Linked DNA regions of Homo sapiens: region 2 is linked to region 1. Evidence: promoter capture Hi-C in human tissues and cell types (Jung and others, 2019). All regions are on one chromosome and are shown on one strand. The core of a region is centred on a gene start or on the middle of the fragment in contact, and the rest is flanking DNA. Distances in the headings are between cores, read along the strand shown.

The links. The method cuts DNA at HindIII sites, captures the fragments that hold promoters and counts their contacts. A contact is called where the count stands out against the background at its distance.
Region 2: a fragment that was not itself captured here is called in contact with the fragment with the promoter of CYP2F1 in region 1 in 3 of the 25 tissues and cell types used here (H1 embryonic stem cells, bladder and liver).

What each region holds. Positions count from the first base shown.
Region 1 is chr19:41,111,065-41,116,034 of GRCh38, forward strand. CYP2F1 (cytochrome P450 family 2 subfamily F member 1) reads left to right here and starts at 3,368. Exons shown (of 10, transcript NM_000774.5): 1 at 3,368-3,428. The HindIII fragment of the contact is 13,902 bases long and covers 1-4,970 here.
Region 2 is chr19:41,010,677-41,015,808 of GRCh38, forward strand. It overlaps CYP2B6 (cytochrome P450 family 2 subfamily B member 6), which reads left to right. Exons shown (of 9, transcript NM_000767.5): 7 at 1,622-1,809; 8 at 1,998-2,139. Among named protein-coding and RNA genes, the nearest start is that of CYP2B6, 22 kb to the left of the region's middle. The HindIII fragment of the contact is 4,745 bases long and covers 969-5,132 here.

The DNA of each region.
Region 1 (4,970 bases), core at 2,118-4,617:
AGTAGAGACAGGGGTCTCGCAATGTTGCACAGCCTGGTCTCAAATTTCTGGCCTCTAGTGATCCTTCCACCTCAGCCTCCTATAGCTAGGATTATAGGCACAAACCACCACGCCCAGCTCCAAGAGAACTTTCTTGGATGATGAAAATATTCTGTATCTTCACAGGGATTTCGATACCTTCAAAATTCAGCAAATGTTCACTTACCATGTGTGTATTTCATCACAGGTAAATTTTACCTAAAGAAATCGTTAAGGGAAAACTCCATCTACACACCTTCACAGGAACTATGACACAGTAAATAGAATCAAGTCCTCCAGTTGGCGATGGAATGGGATCTGGCACACCAGAAGGGGGCTCACCTAAGCCTGACATGGGACACTGTGTGGTTCTAGCAGGAAGGAAGGCTGCATGTGCCGTCCAGATGCCAGTGGGCAAGAGGACAGGATGATGGAGGATGCGCCCGCTTACTGCCCATTGCTGCCATTCTCTCCGTGAGATAAGAAGCGGGTTCATCAACAAAGAGTGAGGTGACTGAAGAGGGTTTTGGAGTTTGAGGAGGCAGGAACAAAAGGATAGGAATAGGGCGGGGGGAGTTCCAAGAGAGGACAATGAGAGGCGAGGCATTTTTCCACCACGGAGTGTGTTTCAGCTTTCTGCAATACCCCAGCGGTTCTCAACTGGGTTGATTTTTTTCCTCCCAAGGGGACATTCAATAGTATCTGGAGTCATGTTTGTTTGTAACAACTGGTAGGGAATGAGTGGGTGGGTTCTGTCATCTACTGAGTAGAAACCAAGGACACTGCTAAACATCCTACCACACACAGGATGCAGCCCCCACCACCCATGAAGGCCCAAGACATCAACAGCAGTGAGTTGAGAAATTGCAATACATCCCTTCCTTGCCCCAAGTTCCCTCTGTAGCAGGAGAGCAAGTCAGAATAACAGAACTCAAAGCCTCTTAAAACCCCCCTTCTCGGCCACACATGGTGGCTCACGCCTGTAATCCCCAGAGGCCCAGGTGGGAGGATCGCTTGAGCCCAGGAGTTGGGGACCAGACTGGGTGACATAGCATGCTAGATCTCATCTCTACTAAAAATTTTAAAAATTAGCCAGGTGTGGTGATGCGTGCTTGTAGTCCCAGCTACTTGGGAAGCTGAGGCAGGAGAATCCCTTAAGCCCAGGAGATCGAGGCTGCAATGAGCTATGATCACACCACTAAACTCCAGTCTGGGTGACAGAGTGAGACCCTGTGTCAAAACAAACTAACTAACTGCCCTTCCCATAAATCCCAGTTTCCCCAATCAGGTGGTCCCATTAGGCCCATCTTTTTTTTCTTTTTTTTTCTTTTTTTTGAGTCAAAGTTTCACTCTTGTTGCCCAGGCTGGAGTGCAATGGTACAATCTCAGCTCACTGCAACCTCCACCTCCCGGGTTCAAGTGATTCTCCTGCCTCAGCCTCCTGAGTAGCTGGGATTATAGGCAAGCACCACCACGCCTGGCTAATTTTTTTTGTATTTTTAGTAGAGACAGGGTTTTGCCATGTTGGTCAGGCTGTCTCAAACTCCTGACCTCAGGTGATCCACCCACCTCGGCCTCCCAAAGTGCTGGGATTACAGGCATGAGCCACCACGCCCAGCCTCATTAGGCCCCTCTTAACCAAGTTCTAGGGTGAGGGATAAGTTGCTTACAGGGTTGGCGTGGATACAGCACTACACCCTCCCCTTAAAAGTAGGGAGTAGACGCCAAGGGAAACTAGAGCTATATAATCCCATCATCAAGCCTTCAGCCCTCTTCCAGGACCTGCCCCAACCGGCCTATCCAGGACTGAAACAACAGCATGGGCCCCACCTCCACCCCACCATATGCCTGGGACCTAGGGTGTCAAATTCCCCAGGACCTCCAAACACTTCCTCCTCTGCCCCTCTGAGAACAGCAATCCTGGTGCACACCCACGAACCTGTGGGGGTACCCACACCTCCACCTGGCCTCCCAGACCCTTGACCGCAGGGGCTCTCCACCCAGCCTAGCCCCTGGCACCAGAGCCCTGGCCCAGCTCCAGGTTTTGCATTCTGCCCTTGTGACCTGGCCAGGAGGTGGGTAACTAGGGCCAGTTTCTTCTTCTTTTTTTTTTTTTTTTTTTTTTGAGACCGAGTCTCACCCTGTTGCCCAGGCTGGAGTGCAGTGGCATGTTCTTAGCTCACTGCAACCTCCACCTCCCGGGTTCAAGCGATTCTCCTGCCCCAGCCTCCCAAGTAGCTCAGACTACAGGCGTGAGCCACCATGCCTGGCTAATTTTTGTATTATTAGTAGAGACAGGGTTTCACCATGTTGGCCAGGCTGGTCTTGAACTCCTGACCTCAGGTGATCCACCCACCTCGGCCTCCCAAAGTGCTGGGATTACAGGCGTGAGCCACTGCGCCTGGCCTACTAGGGTGAGTTTCTAAGGCAGGAGCTGAGAGTAGACATGGCTAGTAGGGTGCTCAGGAGGGCAGGAGGAGGGCTGTTTATGAGCCAGTGGTGGGAGAGAGTGTCATTCTAGTCTGAGAGGCTTTTTCCCTGTGGCTTCCAGCTCTGCCCTTTTCTTAAACACTCCTTCAGCCTCAGCTTGGCTTCAGTCCCACCAAGTGCAGTCTGACTCGTGGAGACATGAGAGATAGAGAGAGTGAGAGACCAGAGAGATCAGGAGACAGTGACTGAGAGGGACTTACAGGGAGATCAGGGAGAGAAGCAGAGAGAAGGAGAAAGCCCAGAGAGCATAAGAAATGAAGACCCAGAGACACCAAAGGAGGGAGAGACAGAGACACAGAGAGACAAAAAGATTCAGAGGCAGAGACTGTAGAGGCAGAAGCAAAGCAAGACACAGAGCATTTCAGAGACCCACGGCAAGAGACAGGGAACAGCATGGAGAACTATGAAAAAATAGGCTTCCAGAGAAAGAGAAAACTCCAGCTCTGGAGGGAAAGGGACTTAGCCAGGGCCACTCGGCCCATCAGTGGCAGAAATGGACTTGAACCCAGAGAAAAAGAAACAAGTGCCCCAAATACCAAAGGAACCCAGCCCCCATCCCTGGCCCATCATTTTGCGACAGCCCCATGACTACCCCAAAACCAGGCCCAGGCTCCAACTGGCAAAGCAAAAAAAAAAAACAAAGAAAGAAAGAAAGCTTTGCCCCATCCCAGGAGGGCCCCCAGGCGCAGCCCCCTCCCACGGCACCTTTCCAGCTGGCTGTGAGCCCTAGGGCCGCAGGAAAGGTATGGCAAGATGATGGGAGGGATTTAAAGTTCACAGCGAGAACAAGAAAAGTGGGGTTAAGGAGGAGGGTGTGGGCAGAAACAACTTAAGAACAACCTCTGCCCCACCACCCCCCAAGCACACCCAGAGCTGCAGGCTCTAGCGCATCCCAGCCAGTGTCTCCTGCAGCTCAGCAGGTAAAGGGCCCCGGTGAGGGAGGCAGAGAAGGAGGGGGTGTCTCCCAAGAGAGGGTGGGTCGCCAGCTCCAATCTCTGTCTCTGAGACTGGCTAGGAATCTTTTTTGCTGTTTCCTCTGAGAGCTCTCATGTCCCTGTTCTGAGCACTGGGATTTCTTTACTGGTGCTTCACCAAGTAGGTGGCTTCTCTCTCTGCAATGCAACCCCATGGTTGGCAACACTTGATTTTTTCCTGTCACTGTTTCTGCCTGTGCCCTTCCTCTCTGTCTCCGTCTCTTTCTCTCTCTCTCTCTCTCTTTTTTTTTTTTTTTTTTTTTTTGAGGCTGGAGTGCAGTGGTTCAATCTCAGCTCACTGCAACCTCCACCTCCTGGGTTCAAGCGATTCTCCTGCCTCAGCCTCCTGAGTAGCTGGGATTACAGGTGCCTAACACCACGCCTGACTAATTTTTGTGTTTTTAGTAGAGACAGGGTTTCACCATGTTGGCCAGGCTGGTCTCAAACTCCTGACCTCAAGTGATCCGCCTGCCTCGGCCTCCCAGAGTGCTGGGATTACAGGCGTGAGCCACCGTGCCCGGCCTCAGTCTCTCTTGGTCTGCCCTTTGCAGCCTACCCGTCTCTTTGTGTGGCTCTAATATTCCCTGCCTCTCTTATTCTCTCTCTCTCTCTCTCCATCTCTGTCTATGTGACTCTGTCTTTGTGTATCTGTTTCTGTCTGTCATTCTCGTCTCCCTCAGTCTCTGTGTCTAGCTCTGTCTCTCCCTCTCTCTGTCCCTCTTACCCTTTTTCTCTCCATCCTTCCATGTCCCTCTCTGTCTCTCAGTCAGTGTCCATCTCACTGTCTCTCCACTCAATCTCCCTTGTCTTTCTCTAGCTCTGTGTCTGTCTAGTTCTGTCTCTTTCTTTCTCTAGTCTATGTCAGCCTCTCTCTTTCTGTGATGTGCTCTCTGGCTCTCCCTATCTCTGTGTTTGTCTGTCTCTGTCCCTGTGTGTCTTGATCTCTCTTTATCACTGTCTCTGTATGACAGTCTCTTGACAGACAGGTGATGATAGATAGATAATAGACAGATGATACACAGATGATAGATTATGAAGATAGTAGATAGATGATAGATATAGATAGATAATAGATGATAGATAATAGACAGATCAATGATAGATGATAGAAGAATAGATAGATGATGGATAGACAGATGATAGATGATAGATAGATAGATAGATGATAGATAGATGTTGATAGATGTTAGATAATAGATGAGAAACAAAGAAAGAAAGAAAAAGAAAAAAGAAAGAAAGAAAAAGAAAGGAAGGAAGGAAGGAAAGAAAGAGTGATAGATGATAGATGGCTGATAGGTAGACAGACATCTGTAGATATGTAGATCGCTCACTGTTTTTCTGTCTCTCTCATTATCTTTATGCATATCTCTTGGCCTCTCTTAGTCTCTGTTCCTCTATCACTTGCCTCTCTCCATTTATGTCTCTGTGTTTCTGTCTCCTTATCTGTCTATATGTTGACTATCTCTGCCTCTTTCCTCCTTTCTCCCT
Region 2 (5,132 bases), core at 2,091-4,590, 100 kb before region 1:
GCAGTTTTGTTACATGCGTAGGTTTTGTAATGGTCAAGTTTGGGCTGTTAGGGTATTTATCACCCAAACAGTGTACATTGTACCCATTAAGTAATTTCTCATCATTCACCCCCCTTCTGCTCCCTCACTCTTCTGAGTCTTCACTGTGTATCATTCCTCTCTCTGTGTCCATGTGTACACATTTTGTAGCACTCACTCATGAGTGAGAACATGCAATATTTGACTTTCTGTGCCATCACTTAAAAATCGATCCATCCACTTATCATTTCATCTATTCATTCTTTAATTCATTAATTAAAGAATGTATAATTACTGATTCTTTCATTTATGATTCATCTAAGGACATATACTGTCATTCATTTATTTGGATTACTTGATCCACAAGTTGATCCTTTGAAACAGTGGTATGTTGATGGACTATTTGTCATTGATTCATTGGCTCATTCATTCATTCATTCATGCATTCATCCATCCTTCTACGAACTAGGTTTCACTCTTATCCTTCCATGAGTCAACCTTTCAATTCACCCTTAATCCATCCGTGATTTCCTTCATTTATCACAATAATTCACTCATTTATTCACCTCTGATCTACTTATCATTCAATCCAGCCTTTCATTTACTCCTTTATTTACTCATACTTCACTAATTTAATTATTCACTTGCTCTTCCATAAATCTAGCCATTCATGTGATTATTCATTAATTGGGTTCATTGATTTCTTTGTCTATGGATCATTCATTAGTGATTAATTAATCAATCCATCTATTAATTGATAAGTAAATACAGACATCCATTTATTGGTTTGTTCATTTATTCATCAATCTTTCCATCCATGAATTGATCTATTGATTGATTGATTGATGTTTTTATCCAGTTGTTCATGAATTCATCTATTGTTCTATTACACTGTTATATACCTGAGGACCAAGAATAGTGTCTCAACTATATTATAAACACAATAAATATTAGTTCATTTTCTACTCATCTTAGAGAGGGTGTTTTGAGAGGTTTGTAGCCTGGAGTTCTTAATCTGAAATTCCATGCAAAATCGTGGTGTGTGTGTGCATGTGTGTGTGTGTACCTGGGCATGTGGGAAGAGGATCTGTAATATTCATTAGATTTCAAGCAGTGAGAATTCTTGTTGCTTCCTCCCTCCTCCCCTCACCCCATGCTGATTACTTTGAGGGGTATCAAGGATCTAACCCTTTACTATAGGTTTTTCATTGGTCAATAGAAAGTAGTGTCCTTGCTGAAAGGTCTCTTTTTAAAAAAATTTTTTTTTCTTTTGAGATGGAGTCTTGCTCTGTCACCCAGTCTAGAGTGCAGTGGCATGATCTCGGCTCACTGCAACCTCCACCTCCTGGGTTCAAGTGATTCTCCTGCCTCAGCCTCCTGAGTAGCTAGGAATACAGGTGTGCACCAGCACACCCAGCTAATTTTTTGTATTTTTAGGAGAGACGGGATTTTGCCATGTTGGCCAGGCTCATCTTGAACTCCTGACCTCAAGGAATCCACCCACCTCAACCTCCAAAATTGCTGGGATTACAGGCATGAGCCACCATGCCTGGCCTGAAATGCCTCTTTAAAATGAGATTCATTGGTCTTCTTTTCTGTACAGAGAGAGTCTACAGGGAGATTGAACAGGTGATTGGCCCACATCGCCCTCCAGAGCTTCATGACCGAGCCAAAATGCCATACACAGAGGCAGTCATCTATGAGATTCAGAGATTTTCCGACCTTCTCCCCATGGGTGTGCCCCACATTGTCACCCAACACACCAGCTTCCGAGGGTACATCATCCCCAAGGTAAGACCGGCTGGAACCCCATAGCCCTCCTGTTTGGGCATCCTGGATTCTCTTAATCCCCGAACTCAACCTTTTGTTAGCTCCTTAATTGAGTCCCGTTGTTTTTGTTTTTTGTATTTCTTTTTTGTGGAGTGTGTGGAGGGTTGGAGGGAATGGCAATATCTTTTGATCTTGTGATCCTCCCTCAGGACACAGAAGTATTTCTCATCCTGAGCACTGCTCTCCATGACCCACACTACTTTGAAAAACCAGACGCCTTCAATCCTGACCACTTTCTGGATGCCAATGGGGCACTGAAAAAGACTGAAGCTTTTATCCCCTTCTCCTTAGGTAAGCTGGACCCACAATTTCTTTCCCAGACACCAGAGGGCAGGTACTATCCCCAACTTGAGAAAAACAACGAGAGATACTGATTATTTGAGCACTTAATATATTCTGATTGCTTCACCTGCCTTATCCCATTCCATCTTCACTACAACCCTATAAGGAGGCTTGAGAAAGAAGATTACATTCCCAAAGGCACATCTTGGCAAGCAGGACCTTGGGCAAGTATTTTAACATCTCTAAACCTCAGTGAGTTCATTTTCTTAAAAAGAAAAAATCTGTTGGGCACCACTGTAAGCCCAGTGCTGTACTGGGGGCTGAAGATAATGCATCAAACAAGTCACACAGAGACAGGGTTCCTGCCCCAGGAAATTTAAAGTCCAGCAGGGAAGATGGGCATTCATCAAATAATAATAAAATAATCATCTCATGAAATGAATGAATGCCTGCAACATGCTTAGAACTGCCTGGCACAAAGGACATGCTCACAAGGGCAATTATTATTATAATTAGACATAATTGTGATAAGTGCTCTAAAGGGAGCTTTGGGAGCACAAAATAGGAAATAGTAGCTAATCTTGTGGTGGGTCCGTAAGGAAAAGCTTACCAGAGGAACTGGCTTCCAAGCTAACATGTTCATGGGTGAGCATCAATCAACCATTGCAAAGTGTGTTCCAGGCAAAGGAAACAGCAAGGACAAAGGCCAAAGGTAGAAACGTGATATGGCACCATTGAGAACCTATAGGAAGTCCAGTGAGCCTTGGGTGTAGATTGCAGAAGGAAATAAGACAAAGGGCTCATCTGGGCAGGACCTTGAAGGTTGCAGGAGGAGTTTGGATTTATGGTCTAGCACTGGGAAGGTGGAAAAGGTCTTGACGTGCTCTGACTTGTCCCAGTTCTCATCCTCTACTCTTTGGCTGGTTAAAAGAAAAACTTTAGACAAATTAAACTTAGCAGAGTCTATCTGAACAAAGAAACAATTCATGAATTGGGCAGCACAAGGAACCAGTAAAGGTTCAGAGAGCTCCATCCAGCAATGTGGTCAGGCACTATTTATCCACAGGGAAAGGAACTGAGGTACTGAAACAGCCTGATTGGTTACAGCTCTGTGTTTGCCTTATCTGAGCATGTCTGGGCAGCTTGTAGCCTGTGACTGGCTGAAGCTTGGCTGCCCTGATTGTCCAAGGTTACTTGTTACAAGAATATACTCTCAAGTTTGTTTACATGTTGAGTTACATTACAATTTGTTATGTAGGGAGGCTGCTTTAGGCCAAATTTAATTGAATTTAACATGCACCATCCATGAAAGGCCCCAGAAACAAACCCCCAGTCTTGAGTTTCATCAGTGACTTCAGTGATCCAGGGTTTGGCCCAGCCCCCGGTTTTGCGCAGTACAGTGACCTCCTTCCACATTTTATCTTCAATGAAAATTGGGAACATGTGTGGTGATGGCTTGAATGTCAATGTCTTCTCTCAATTTTGCTATCTGAAGTTTCTTTTTTTTTTTTTGTCTTCAGACGGAGTCTTCCTGTGTTGCCCAGGCTGGAGTGCAGTGTCACGATCACAGCTCACTGCAACCTCTGCCTCCCAGGTTCAAGTGATTCTCCTGCCTCAGCCTCCCGAGTACCTGAAACTACGGGCGCATGCCACCATGCCTGGCTATTTTTTTTTATTTTTAGTAGAGACTGGGTTTCACCGTGTTAGCCAGGATGGTGCTGATCTTCTGACCTTGTGATATGCCCACCTCAGTTTCTGAAAGTCCTGGGATTACAGGCATAAGCCACTGCGACTGGCCTGCTAATTTGTTTTAAGAGAGGCAGAGATGTAGGGAAATAAGGACAGAGACAGATAAGTAACAAAGATAATGAGACTGAGAAACAGAGTTAGGGACAAAGAGGGAACACATAGAGATAGAGATGGGGAGCCAGTGGCAGAAAGACAGAGGGCAAACCTCAGACAGTATACAGAGAGGAAGAGAGAGAGACACAGAGAGAGAGAGAGTCACGTAAGGAGAAGGAGGAGGAGGAGGAATAAGAGGAGAGAGAGTAGGAAAAGGAAGGAGGAGGGGAGAAAGGAGGGAAAGGAGAGAAACAGAATAAGAGATAGGAAAAAGAGAGAGTGACATAAAAAGAGAGGAAGAAAGAATGAACAAGACAAATAAGGTATCTTTAGAGGGAGATGAAAAGAAAGAATGAGAGAGAAAGAGATTGGGGAGAAATCAGATTCAAATAGATGGAGATAGGAAGTTAAGCAAGATGGAAGAAAGCCAAAAAAAGGAGAGGAAAAGAAGAAAAGCTGTGTCTGACAGGTATAGACAGAGAAAAAGACAGGAGTAGGGCTGCCAGGGGCAGAAAGAAAGGTATAACCCAAGCCAAAAGGGTACTGCAGCCAAAGAAATTCGAAAGGTGTCCAAACAGACGGCCCCAGAGATGGGGAGGGCGTGATGAGAGGGAGATAATAAGCCTCAGGCTGTTGTGAAAAATGTTAGGTCACACAAAGAGTTACAGAAGAACAGGCCCAGAGACCTGCCTGTTTCTAAGCTCATGTCACCCACCTTCTGGGTATGCCAAAGGGATGTGGACACTTTTCCAAACACCTCCACATAGACACACTTGTCCAACAACTTGACAGGCATAGGGAATGCCTGAAAACTCACACTTGACATGGCCTTTCCAAGGTTTGCAGATTATGAAACACTGAAGTGAAGGGAAAGGCTCCCTTTGTCTCTGCCTGAGCTTTTTCCAGCACCCTTTGTTCTTATTTTTCTCCCAATCTGTGGTTTAGAATCTACTGGGGGTTCCTTGCACCTCTGAGAATCAGTGGAAGCCATAGACCCTCCCTGTCTCATACGCATCAGTCCCATTCACAATTTATATACAATTGGGCTTTTCCCCCCTTGAGCTCTTGAAGCCTGTGGATCTCAGGCTGAGACTAGAAGACAGCCTAGAGACACAGACACAGACACATGGCCAGAAACACATACCCCACACATACCCCAG